Linked DNA regions of Homo sapiens: regions 1 and 2 are each linked to region 3. The links are contacts of gene promoters, found by promoter capture Hi-C in blood cells and fetal thymus (Javierre and others, 2016). All regions are on one chromosome and are shown on one strand. Each heading gives the region's core, a stretch centred on a gene start or on the middle of the fragment in contact. The rest is flanking DNA. Distances are from core to core; before and after follow the strand shown. Region 1 has its middle 160 kb from the start of GDAP2. Region 2 has its middle 140 kb from the start of TENT5C. Region 3 holds the start of TENT5C-DT (TENT5C divergent transcript).

Region 1 (3,207 bases), core at 708-3,207, 170 kb before region 3:
CTGTCATGAGGGCAAGTGTGATGGAGGTTGAATTAGAGTAGAAAGAAACTGCAGTTTTATCTTACTCTCACAAATAATGCAAAATCATTTGAGCATAAGAACTCATTGTTGGGCTCTCTCTCAGGGCCATATAAAGGCTTTGTGCTAGTGAAGGGCCCTGGAAATAAGCTTCATAAACATGACGGTAAGTTCATTTTGCCTGAATTTTACAATAGCATCCTAACTGGCCTCCCAATCCATTTTCCATATAGTAGCCAGAGTAATCTTAAAAGACAAACTAGATGACATCAGCAAGATGACAAAATAGAGGTCCCCAGCCTACACACACACCCTACACACACACACACACACACACACAAAACCACTTAAATATTTGGCAGCTATTTATAGACAAAGTGTCTTTGTAGGAGTTTGGGGATCTGGGCAGAAGGTTGCAAAGCCCTGGTGGCGCCCAAGACTCGGGAGGGCTGCTTTGAGAAGGCAAGCCAGCACATTGGTGACAATTCCACTGGCCATAGTTCCAGCTGTGGGCTGAAGGAGCTCCATCCCTCTATGAACTCAGCTCCAGCCCCCCTTGTTCACAGTCCTGACACCAGCCCCTTCCACCAAGGGACCCAGGAGAAGTCACATCCATTCATGCTCCCCATAACAAGCCTGCCAAACTTGAACCTGATTGTAGTCCCTGGAGCAGTTAAATGACCTGGCTTCAGCCCACTCTATCATTGTCCATGGCAGTCTTGCCCACCCAGAGACCTGCTCAGGAACCTAATGGAAGCCACACCAAAAAACAACCAGGTAACAGACCTGACAACTTTGGATCCAACTGTGGTTACTGAAGCAGTCCTGTGACCTGGCTTCAATTCCATTCTACTGAAGTTCAGAGGAAGTCCTGATCACCCAGAGACCAGCCCAGCTACCTAACAGGAGCATATTTAGAGACTCAAAGAAGCCATACCTCAACATGTTCCTGGTAACCAGGCTTGCCAACCACAGACCTGACAGTGAATCTGGAAACAGCCATGAGACCTGGCTCTAGCCCCACCTAACTACAATCCTGGAGTTAGTTCATCCAGGAACACGGCAGGAAAAAATCTTTACCTACTGAAATCAGTTTTATAAAGACAGGAATAAGTGTCTTCTTCAAATGCATAGACACCAATGCAAGACTACACAGATCATGATGAATTAGGCAAACATGACTGCAGCAAAGGAAACTAATAAAGTGCCAGTAATAAACCATAAAGAAATGGAGACCCATGAAATCTTTGACAAAAAATTAAAAGTAATCTTAAAGAAGCTGAAAGAGCTGCAAGAGAACACAGATAGATGACTAAACAAAAATAAAAAAAAAATACATGAGCAAAATTAGAAGCTTAACAAAGAAATAGAAACCATAAAAAAGAACCAAACAGAAATGCTGGAGCTGAAGAGTACAATGACTGAACTAAAAAATTCAATAGAAAGCTTAACAGTAGACTCTCTCATGCAAAAGAAAGAATCAGTACCTTAAAGACAGGTCATTTGAAATTATTCAATTAGAGGAATGAAAAGAAAAAGGAATGAAAAAGAGTGAGGAATGTCTACACGACCTCTGAGACACCATCAGGCAAACCAATATACACATTATGTGAGTCCCAGAAGGATTAGAGAATGAGAAAGTAGAAGAAAAATATTTAGACATAATGACAGAAAACTTTCCATGTTTGGGGAAATGAATATCCAGATCATGATGCCTAGAGAACCTCAAATAGACTGAACATCAAGAGGTCTTTACTGAACCACATTGTAATCAAACTGTCAAAAGTCAAGAGGAAGGAAGGAAGATAGGAAGGAAGGAAAGTGGGAGGGAGGGATGGACTAATTAATTGGAAATGACTTATCAACCATAAGGGAACCACCATAAAACTATCAGAAGATTTCCTAGCAGAATCCTTGCATGCCAGAAAATATTGGAATAATATATTGTAAGTGTTGAAAGAAAAAAATACTGCCAATCAAGAATATCATATGTAGCAAAGCTATCCTTAAGAAATGAGAGATAAAGACTTTCCCAGACAAACAAAAGCTGAGGGAATTAATCACCACTAGACATGACTTACAAGAAATCCTAAAGGGAGTTCTTCAAGTTTAAATGAAAGGACATTATCAACATGAAAGTACACAATTCACTGGTAAAGGGAAGTATATAGTCATTTTCAGAATATTGTAATATTGTAATAGTAGTACACCTTTAACTCTAGTATAAAAGTTAAACGAAAAAAGTATCAAAATCACTATATCTACAATGATTTGTTAATGAACACATAATATAATAAGATGGAATCTGTTACTTCAATAACATAAAATGTTTGGGGGGAGTAAAAATGTGGAGTTTTTGTATTCAATTGAAATTAAGTTGTTATCCAGTTAAAATATACTATTGTAACTATGAGATGTTTTATGTAAGCTTCATGATAATCACAAGGAAAAAAATCTGTAGTCAATACACAAAGGATAAAGAGGAAAGAATCAAAGTGCACCACTAGATATACATTATCAAATCTCAAAGGAAGACAGCAAGAAAGAAAAAAAGGAACAAGAGAACTGCAAAACAGTCAGAAAACAATTAACAAAATGGCAATGGTAAGTCCTTGCTTAATAATTACTCTAAAAGTGAGTAGATTAAATTCTTCATTCAAAAGATGTAGGACTCCATTCCAAGATGGCTGAATAGGAACAGCTCCAGTCTGCAGCTCCCAACATGATAAACACAGAAGACAGGTGATTTCTGCATTTCCAACTGAGGTACCTGGTTCATCTCACTGGGACTGGTTGGACAGTGGGTGCAACCCACAGAGGGCGAGCCGAAGCAGGGCAGGGCATTGCCTCACCCAGGAAGTGCAAGGGTGAGGGGATTTCCCTTTCCTAGCCAAGGGAAGCTATGACAGACTGTACCTGGAAAAACAGGACACTTCCACCCAAATACTGCCGTTTTCCCACAGTCTTAGCAACCAGCAGACCAGGAGATTCTCATGCCTGGCTCAGTGGGTCCCACACCCATGGAGCCTTGCTCACGGCTAGTGCAGCAGCCTGAGATCAACCTGCCAGGCTGTAGCCAGGTGGGGGGAGGGGCATCTGCCATTGCTGAGGCTTGAGTAGGTAAACAAAGTAGTTGGGAAGCTTGAACTGGGTGGAGCCCACTGCAGCTCTGCAAGGCCTACTGCTTCT
Region 2 (3,382 bases), core at 333-2,832, 140 kb before region 3:
TAACATCTATGAGGAGATAGATGTTCAGTGAATGAATATACAAACATAAGTTCTGATAAGTGTTATGAAGGAAAAGCATAGAGCATTTTAAGGACTATGACAAGAGGAACTGATTTATATTGGGAGGTCAAGGAATGTATATTAGTCCGGAAATCTTTCAATTACAAATAACAGAAACCCAATCTGAACAAGCTTAAGCAAAAAGAAAGAATGTATTGAAAAGATATTGCTGTGGTTCATAGAAGCAAAGAAGAGGTGGCAATCCCAGCTTTGAGAAGGCGGCAAGAGTGGATGATAAGGCCAGGTGCAGGGGCTCACGCTTGTAATCCCAACACTTTGGGAGGCCAAGGTGGGCGGATCGCTTGAGGTCAGGAGCCTAGACCAGCCTGGCCAACACGGTGAAACCTCATCTCCACTACAAACACAAAAATTAGCAGGGTGTGGTGGTGCACTACTGTAATCCCAGCTACTCAGGAGGCTGAGGTAGGAGAATTGCTTGAACCCGGGAGGCTGAGGTTGCAGTGAGTAGAGATTGCGCCACTGCACTCCAGCCTAGGCGACAGACTGTCTCAAATTAAAAAAAAAAGAAAAAGAAAAAGAGAGAGAGAGAAAAAAAAATGGATAAGATTCAGAGACTGGCACACTGTCAGAACTCTCTCTCTCCCCCCGTTTCTCCCCTCCATGACTCTCTGAGTTGGCCTCATTCTCTCCTACTGCAGACAAACTTTCTCCACACATCAGAGAACATGTTTCATAGCTGAGTGGCTCTCTGGTCCAAGGACAAAAGTGTCTTCCTTTTCATCTTCTGGTAGGAAAATCAGAGAAGAATTAGATGAATCATAGGAATAGGATACTTGAACTTGGCCCACTCCAAATCAGTTCCTATCCCCATAGCTAGGAATGGTGGTTCCTTAAAGAAGGAAGGGTAGGATGAGGTGAGGGGAGGCAAAAGACTTGTTTGAGGAAGTGACATTTAAAATAACATGAGACCTAAAAGAACAACAGGATTTAGCCAGGTTGGGGAAGAACATTCTAAACTTAAAAAAATCATTCATTTATGTAGCATGTATTTATTGAGTACTTACACATGCCTGAACATGGATATATAATTGAGCGCAAGAAGATACAGTCCCTGCCCTCTTGGAGTTTATAAGTGCAAAGATTTTAGGCAGGAAAAACTGGACCTCTCAGAGGACTGTAAGAAGGCTCAAGTGACTAGAGGACAGCGAGTGAGGAGATGAGCAGCACAGGTAAAGCTGGCAGAGAAGGAAGAAGTCATAGCAGGAAGGTTCTCGCAGGCCATACTAAGGTTTGGGATTTTACTCCTAGTGCAGTGGGAGATCATTGAAGAGTCTTATACTGAGGAACAACATGATCTGGTTTGTAATCTTAAACTATCACTTTAAACTTGTTTGTTAAAGGGATTTTGAGAAAATAAAAAGTTAAAGGACACTGGTTAGAAGGCTATGGCTATAGGGTAGGCAAGAAAGAATGGTGGTTTAAACTAAACAGACATGAAGAGGAAGGTGCATATGAGATATATCTCGATGTTTTAATAAATAATACTTGGTAATAGATTGGATGTGGGGGATGAAAGAGAAGAAGGAGATAAGACGATACCCAGATTTACAAGTAACTGAGTGGATGAAGGTTCCATTTACTGAGGTGGGGAGACAATAGGAGAATTCCATTTGAGGAAGAAATTTTGACCATGTTAAGTTTGAGATGTCTATGAGACATCTAAACAAAATGTGAAGTTGGCAGATGTGTATATATGTGTGTGTGCGCGCACGCGTGTGTGTGTATGATCAACTGATGTCAATATAGAGACATGGAATGGATAATCTCAATTAAGAATGGTGTAGCATAAAAGAAGAAACCCAGGATGGATCCCTAGGGAGCTTCAACATTTAAGATAAAGATAAATGTTAAGCAAAAAATATCTGGGAAGAAGCAATCAGAGACTATAGAATCAGAGTTTGGTATTGGAAAGCCAAGAAGAGAATATTTAATAATAGAGGTGATCAATGATGTCAAATGCAACTGAGATCAAACAAAACTATCATTTTCAAGTGTCTGTTGAACTTAGCAACCTAGAGGTCATTGATAACCTCCACAAGAGTAGTTTCTTTCTTTCTTTTCTTTCTTTCTTTCTTTCTTTCTTTCTTTCTTTCTTTCTTTCTTTCTTTCTTTCTTTTTCTTCGAGATGGAGTCTCACTCTGTTGCTCACGCTGGAGTGCAATGGCACAGTCTCAGCTCACTGTAACCTCCACCTCCAGGATTCAAGTGATTCTCCTGCCTCAGCCTCTTGAGTAGCTGGAATTACAGGTGCCTGCCACCACGTCCAGCTAATTTTTTGTATTTTTAGTAGAGATGGGGTTTCACCACGTTGGCCAGGCTGGTCTCAAACTCCTGACCTTGTGATCCACCCGCCTTGGCCTCCCAAAGTGCTGTGATTACAGGTGTGAGCCACCACGTCTGGCCCGCAAGAGTAGTTTCAGGGGAGTAAGATGTGGAGGTGGGAGAAAATGAATGGAGTATTAGACCGTTCTCACATTGCTACACAGAAAGACCTGAGGCTGGGTAATTAATAAAGAAAAGAGGTTTACTTGACTCAAGGTTTTGCAGGCTGTACAGGAAGCATGATGCTGGCATCTGCTCAGTTTTCGGGGAGGCCTCAGGAAACTTAAAATCATGGTGGAAGGCAAAGGGAGAGCAAGGCATCTCACATGGTGGGAGAAAGAGCAAGTAGGGGGAAGATGCTACACACTTTTAAACAACCAGATCTCATGAGAACTCACTGACTATTGTGAGGACAGTACTAAGGGGGATAGTGTCAAACCATTCATGAGAAATCCACCCCTATGATCCAATCACCTCCCACCAGGCCCCACCTCCAACATTGGGGATTACAATTCAACATGAGATTTGGTAGGGATACAGATCCAAACCATATCAAATGGGAAGCTTTTAAAATCATGAATAAGACAAAGATGCCTGCTAATGCTGCATTAGTTCACTATTATGTTAGAGGTCATAATCAGTGAAACAATACAAGAAAAATAAATAAAAGGCATAAGAATTTTAAAAGAAGAAACAAATTGGTCATTATTTGCAGATGACATAATGTCTACATGTAAAATTGAGAGTAATTTACTAATTACCAGAATAAGAAAATTTAGCAAAGTTGCTGGGTATAAAAATGATATACAAAAGTCTATTGTATTTGTCTACTAAATCCAAATAGAAATAATAATTCTTTAAAAATTAATATCTATTGTGGCAACAACCACAATAATAAAAAACAGAAGGCACATGTGTAAGATCTTTGTGGGAAAAAAAACACAAAAATTTATTAAAAGGCAATAGAGAAGATCCAAAT
Region 3 (3,417 bases), core at 839-3,338:
CCCAGCTCAGAGGTTTCCCTAAAAGCCCAGAGAAAAGTCAGCATTCTTTACTCCCCATCCCCCTCCCCCTTTTCCACTGCAGGGCCTAACGTGGCTGGTCTCACACCCTCAATAATACCCTTGGGGATTTAAGACAGTAAAATTCTGGGTAAGCTCTCCTACCACTCTTGCGGCTGCCCAACTTACTTCCTGGGCTCATTTCCTTGCCAATTTACTCACGTTGAAAGGTTGCTGTCGCCAACAACGGTCACCCTCTTTCCTGCACGCAGAGGGCAGCTGAGCCAGCCAGAAGTGTACTTTGGGAGGATCTAATCACCCTAACTTTATTTCCTGGGCTGGTTCAGTCTCCTAACCCACCTACAAAGTAACCTGAAGACCAAGTTGTCACAATACAAATAATTATGCACATAGTATTTATAAAAGCTTTCTTACTATAAGTGCATTTTAAGCACTTCATTTGTATGCACTTTATATCTCCGTAAGAAAGCAAAAATGTTAAAAAGGAAGCAGGCCCCTACTTAATTAAGCCAGGGAACTGGTTAGAGCCCTACAAAAGCCTACCTATGGACAAAAAAGGGCGAAGGGGAAGGGAGCTGACACTATCCCTCCCGCAGGGTCCAGCCCTAATAGTGGGTTCTCCAGAAGCTCGCCAGGCATTCATTTCTCCAGGGGAGCGCCCTTACTTGGAGGTAGCGCTGCTTGGTTTTCTCGCCCGCCAGCGTTGAGTTCAGGTGTGCAGGCTACCAACCTGTATTCTTCAGGTAAGTCACCCTCCTCTGACTCGCCTCCCACCCTGCTCCCTCCTGCCTCGCGACCAGTGCGAAGGGAGTCCCCGAACTGCGACACCTCCCGGGGCAGCCGCACCGGTATCCGTCCGAGTCGACCCACTTGCCGTGGCTTTTCACCTACGCAGTAAAGCAAGTTTCATTTTCAAAAGGAGAGGAAGCAGGTTTCACAGACACCGCATTCCCAAGAAGTTTCTGAGAGACGCGCAGCGCACAAGTCACTGGCTTGGATCCCTTTGCTGCTCATGGTGTCCACAGTCTGATGTGAGCGCATTAAATTTAAGGATCTCCGCCCTTCTCCTTAAAACTCAGGACTTGGCAATGAGCCTAGGAAGCGCCCCTCCCCTCCCCAACCAGATCCAAGCCCCGGACCGCTGCGTCTCCAGCTGCGCCTAGTGAAACCGCCGAATTCGAATTCACACTCGGCGGGCCGGCGAAGGTGTGCGCGCCCGCGGGAGCGCCGGGGCGAGCCCGAGGGACTGCAAGCCAGGAAGGGAGGCATGGGTGGCGGGGGGCGCCGTCTGATCCAGGTAGGAGCGGAGGCGCCGATCACACACTCTTCAGACGCCCTGCCCGCGCCTGGCCAGCGCGCAGCCTGCAGGACGCGCGGAGCAGGAACTCGCTGGAGTTTGCCAAGCCCCAGGTCTCTGGAAAGTTGTAGCTCCCTTTCGGAGCGTCTCTTCTGGCCCTTTGGGACGGGTGTGTCAGGGGCGGGGGTCCTCGAGGGAGCAGGAGGGGAAAGGAGCACCGGGTCTCGGCACCTGTCCGCAGCTCCCCTCGGGTCCGCCTGCCCCCTACCAGGCTGGGCAAAGACCTGAGCACCACTTAGTGGGGGCGGACCCCCACTAAGTGAGCTCGCGGCTCCCTGGGGCTGCTGCCGCATCGCCGCACCTTTAGAGGAGGGGGGTCGCGGACTCACCTGGGCAATAGAAGAGGAGGCGACAGAGGCAGGTCCTTGGCGTGGGCAGGCCCCAGCAGGAGCGGCGCGACCTCTACAGCCCCTAGGCAGCGGCACCGAGTGAGCCGTCCCGCCGCCGCCCCCTCCGTTCTTATACGGCGGGACCACGCCCCCGTCCCCGCCCCTGAGCCGCCCTCCCGGGGGAGCCAGGGGCGGGGCGTGGCGGAGCCAGTCCCCTCGGGACCCTTCCGCCCGGCCCTGACGGCAGGGGCGGGGCGAGGGCTGCCCTCTGATTGGCTCTTCGGGTGAATGGTTGCCAAGAGACGAGTAAATCCTCAGCGGCGGGAAGGGGCGGGGTGCTCAGGGAGGCAGCACTGCGCAAGCGCAATAGAGGGGGCTGCGTCGACACCCACTTAACTTCGGAGTTAGTGGGACACCTTTCTTTTTGCTTAGTACGCTTTTCTGCTATTCCTGCCGCATAACTCTCTCTTCCCCAGGCTTTTCCCATCTCCATCCTATTCTCTCGCAGGCAGGTTTTTCTTCCGCCTCTCTGGGGATTTTCGCGTTGGTTCTCCCTGCCCCCAGGAGTGAGGCGGGTAACGCCCACGCCTACCTCCGGTGTGTGTTTTTGAAGTCGGAAAAAACTTAATGGTTTCTGGGCCCTGGGCACCTTTCTGATTCCCCAAGCAAACTGGCTGGAGGCGAAGGCGTGGTCTTCGGGGAGAGAGCGCCGGCGGCTCTCTGGCCCCGGGGACCACCTGTGTGCAGTTAGTGGGACGAAGGGCCTCGGGGAGTCCATCGCCAATGTCGGCAGCCGCAGCCGCTTCGGCCCCATTCGGAATGCCACAGCACTTGGTCCAGTGTGTTATATAACATGCAGGCAGGGCTTGGACACCATCCATTCATAACATAGCGAGTGGTTTACAGCCCAGGTTCTGAATTCAGACTAATCTGAGTTGAGATCTCCATGCACCACTTAAACTTTCTGTAAGGCCTTAGGCAAGTAACTGAACCAACCCTCCAACAACCTGCGTCTCCTATCTGTAGGACAAGACTAACAATGGGACAGCTCTGTAGAATTATATAAGTATTAAGAAAATACGTGGGAAACAATTAGTGCATTGCCTAGTGCCTGTTAGAAAGTGTGTGGCAAATGCTGTATGTATCAGATAGTAGCCAATGTTGGACAATGTTATTTATCAATAGACATTATTGTACTTGTATTGATCGTTTACTAGGTGCTGGGGGAAAAGATTACTTCCCAGATGCAGTATTTACATCTCCTCCGCCCTACTCTTCCAACCCTGCCTGAAATAAGTGTGGTTCTCCTGTCTGTCAGACTATGAAGAGTTCTCAAATATGTCTTTCCCAGCGAGGGAGAGGAGAGTGAGTATCCAGGAACTTTAATGCGATAGGACATCAATATGAGTGTTTATAGGGAAAGCCAGTGATCCTATTGTTAGACGCGAAATCAAGACATATGATCTGATTTTTTGTTTTACTTTTTGTTTTTGAGGTATAACATTCAGTAAAGCGCACAAATCAAAAGTGTCCAGAATGATAATTTTTTACATATGCATACCCATGTAACTGCCATCCATATCAAGATGTGGAACCTTTCCAGCTCATTCATGCCCCTTCCCATTCAGTATCCGACAAGGATTACCACTATTTTAACCTCTATCACCATAGATTAGTTTTACCAATATTTGAACTTGCTATGGATGAAATACA

What was found. Contacts are between HindIII fragments. The CHiCAGO score rates a contact against its expected background, and 5 or more counts as called.
Region 1: a fragment that was not itself captured here is called in contact with the fragment with the promoter of TENT5C-DT in region 3 in 2 of 17 cell types (naive B cells and total B cells); the score reaches 7.2 in naive B cells.
Region 2: a fragment that was not itself captured here is called in contact with the fragment with the promoter of TENT5C-DT in region 3 in 8 of 17 cell types (naive B cells, total B cells, naive CD4 T cells and 5 more); the score reaches 15.2 in naive B cells.

The regions. Positions count from the first base shown.
Region 1 is chr1:117,769,583-117,772,789 of GRCh38, reverse strand. No RefSeq gene overlaps it. Among named protein-coding and RNA genes, the nearest start is that of GDAP2, 160 kb to the left of the region's middle. The HindIII fragment of the contact is 982 bases long and covers 1,467-2,448 here.
Region 2 is chr1:117,747,959-117,751,340 of GRCh38, reverse strand. No RefSeq gene overlaps it. Among named protein-coding and RNA genes, the nearest start is that of TENT5C, 140 kb to the right of the region's middle. The HindIII fragment of the contact is 2,775 bases long and covers 195-2,969 here.
Region 3 is chr1:117,604,441-117,607,857 of GRCh38, reverse strand. It overlaps TENT5C-DT (TENT5C divergent transcript), which reads left to right and starts at 2,088. Exons shown (of 3, transcript NR_121626.1): 1 at 2,088-2,212; 2 at 2,922-3,069. It overlaps TENT5C (terminal nucleotidyltransferase 5C), which reads right to left and starts at 1,810. Exons shown (of 2, transcript NM_017709.4): 1 at 1,705-1,810. RefSeq lists a silencer at 1,745-2,084 and enhancers at 1,995-2,495, 2,496-2,996. The HindIII fragment of the contact is 6,964 bases long and covers 426-3,417 here.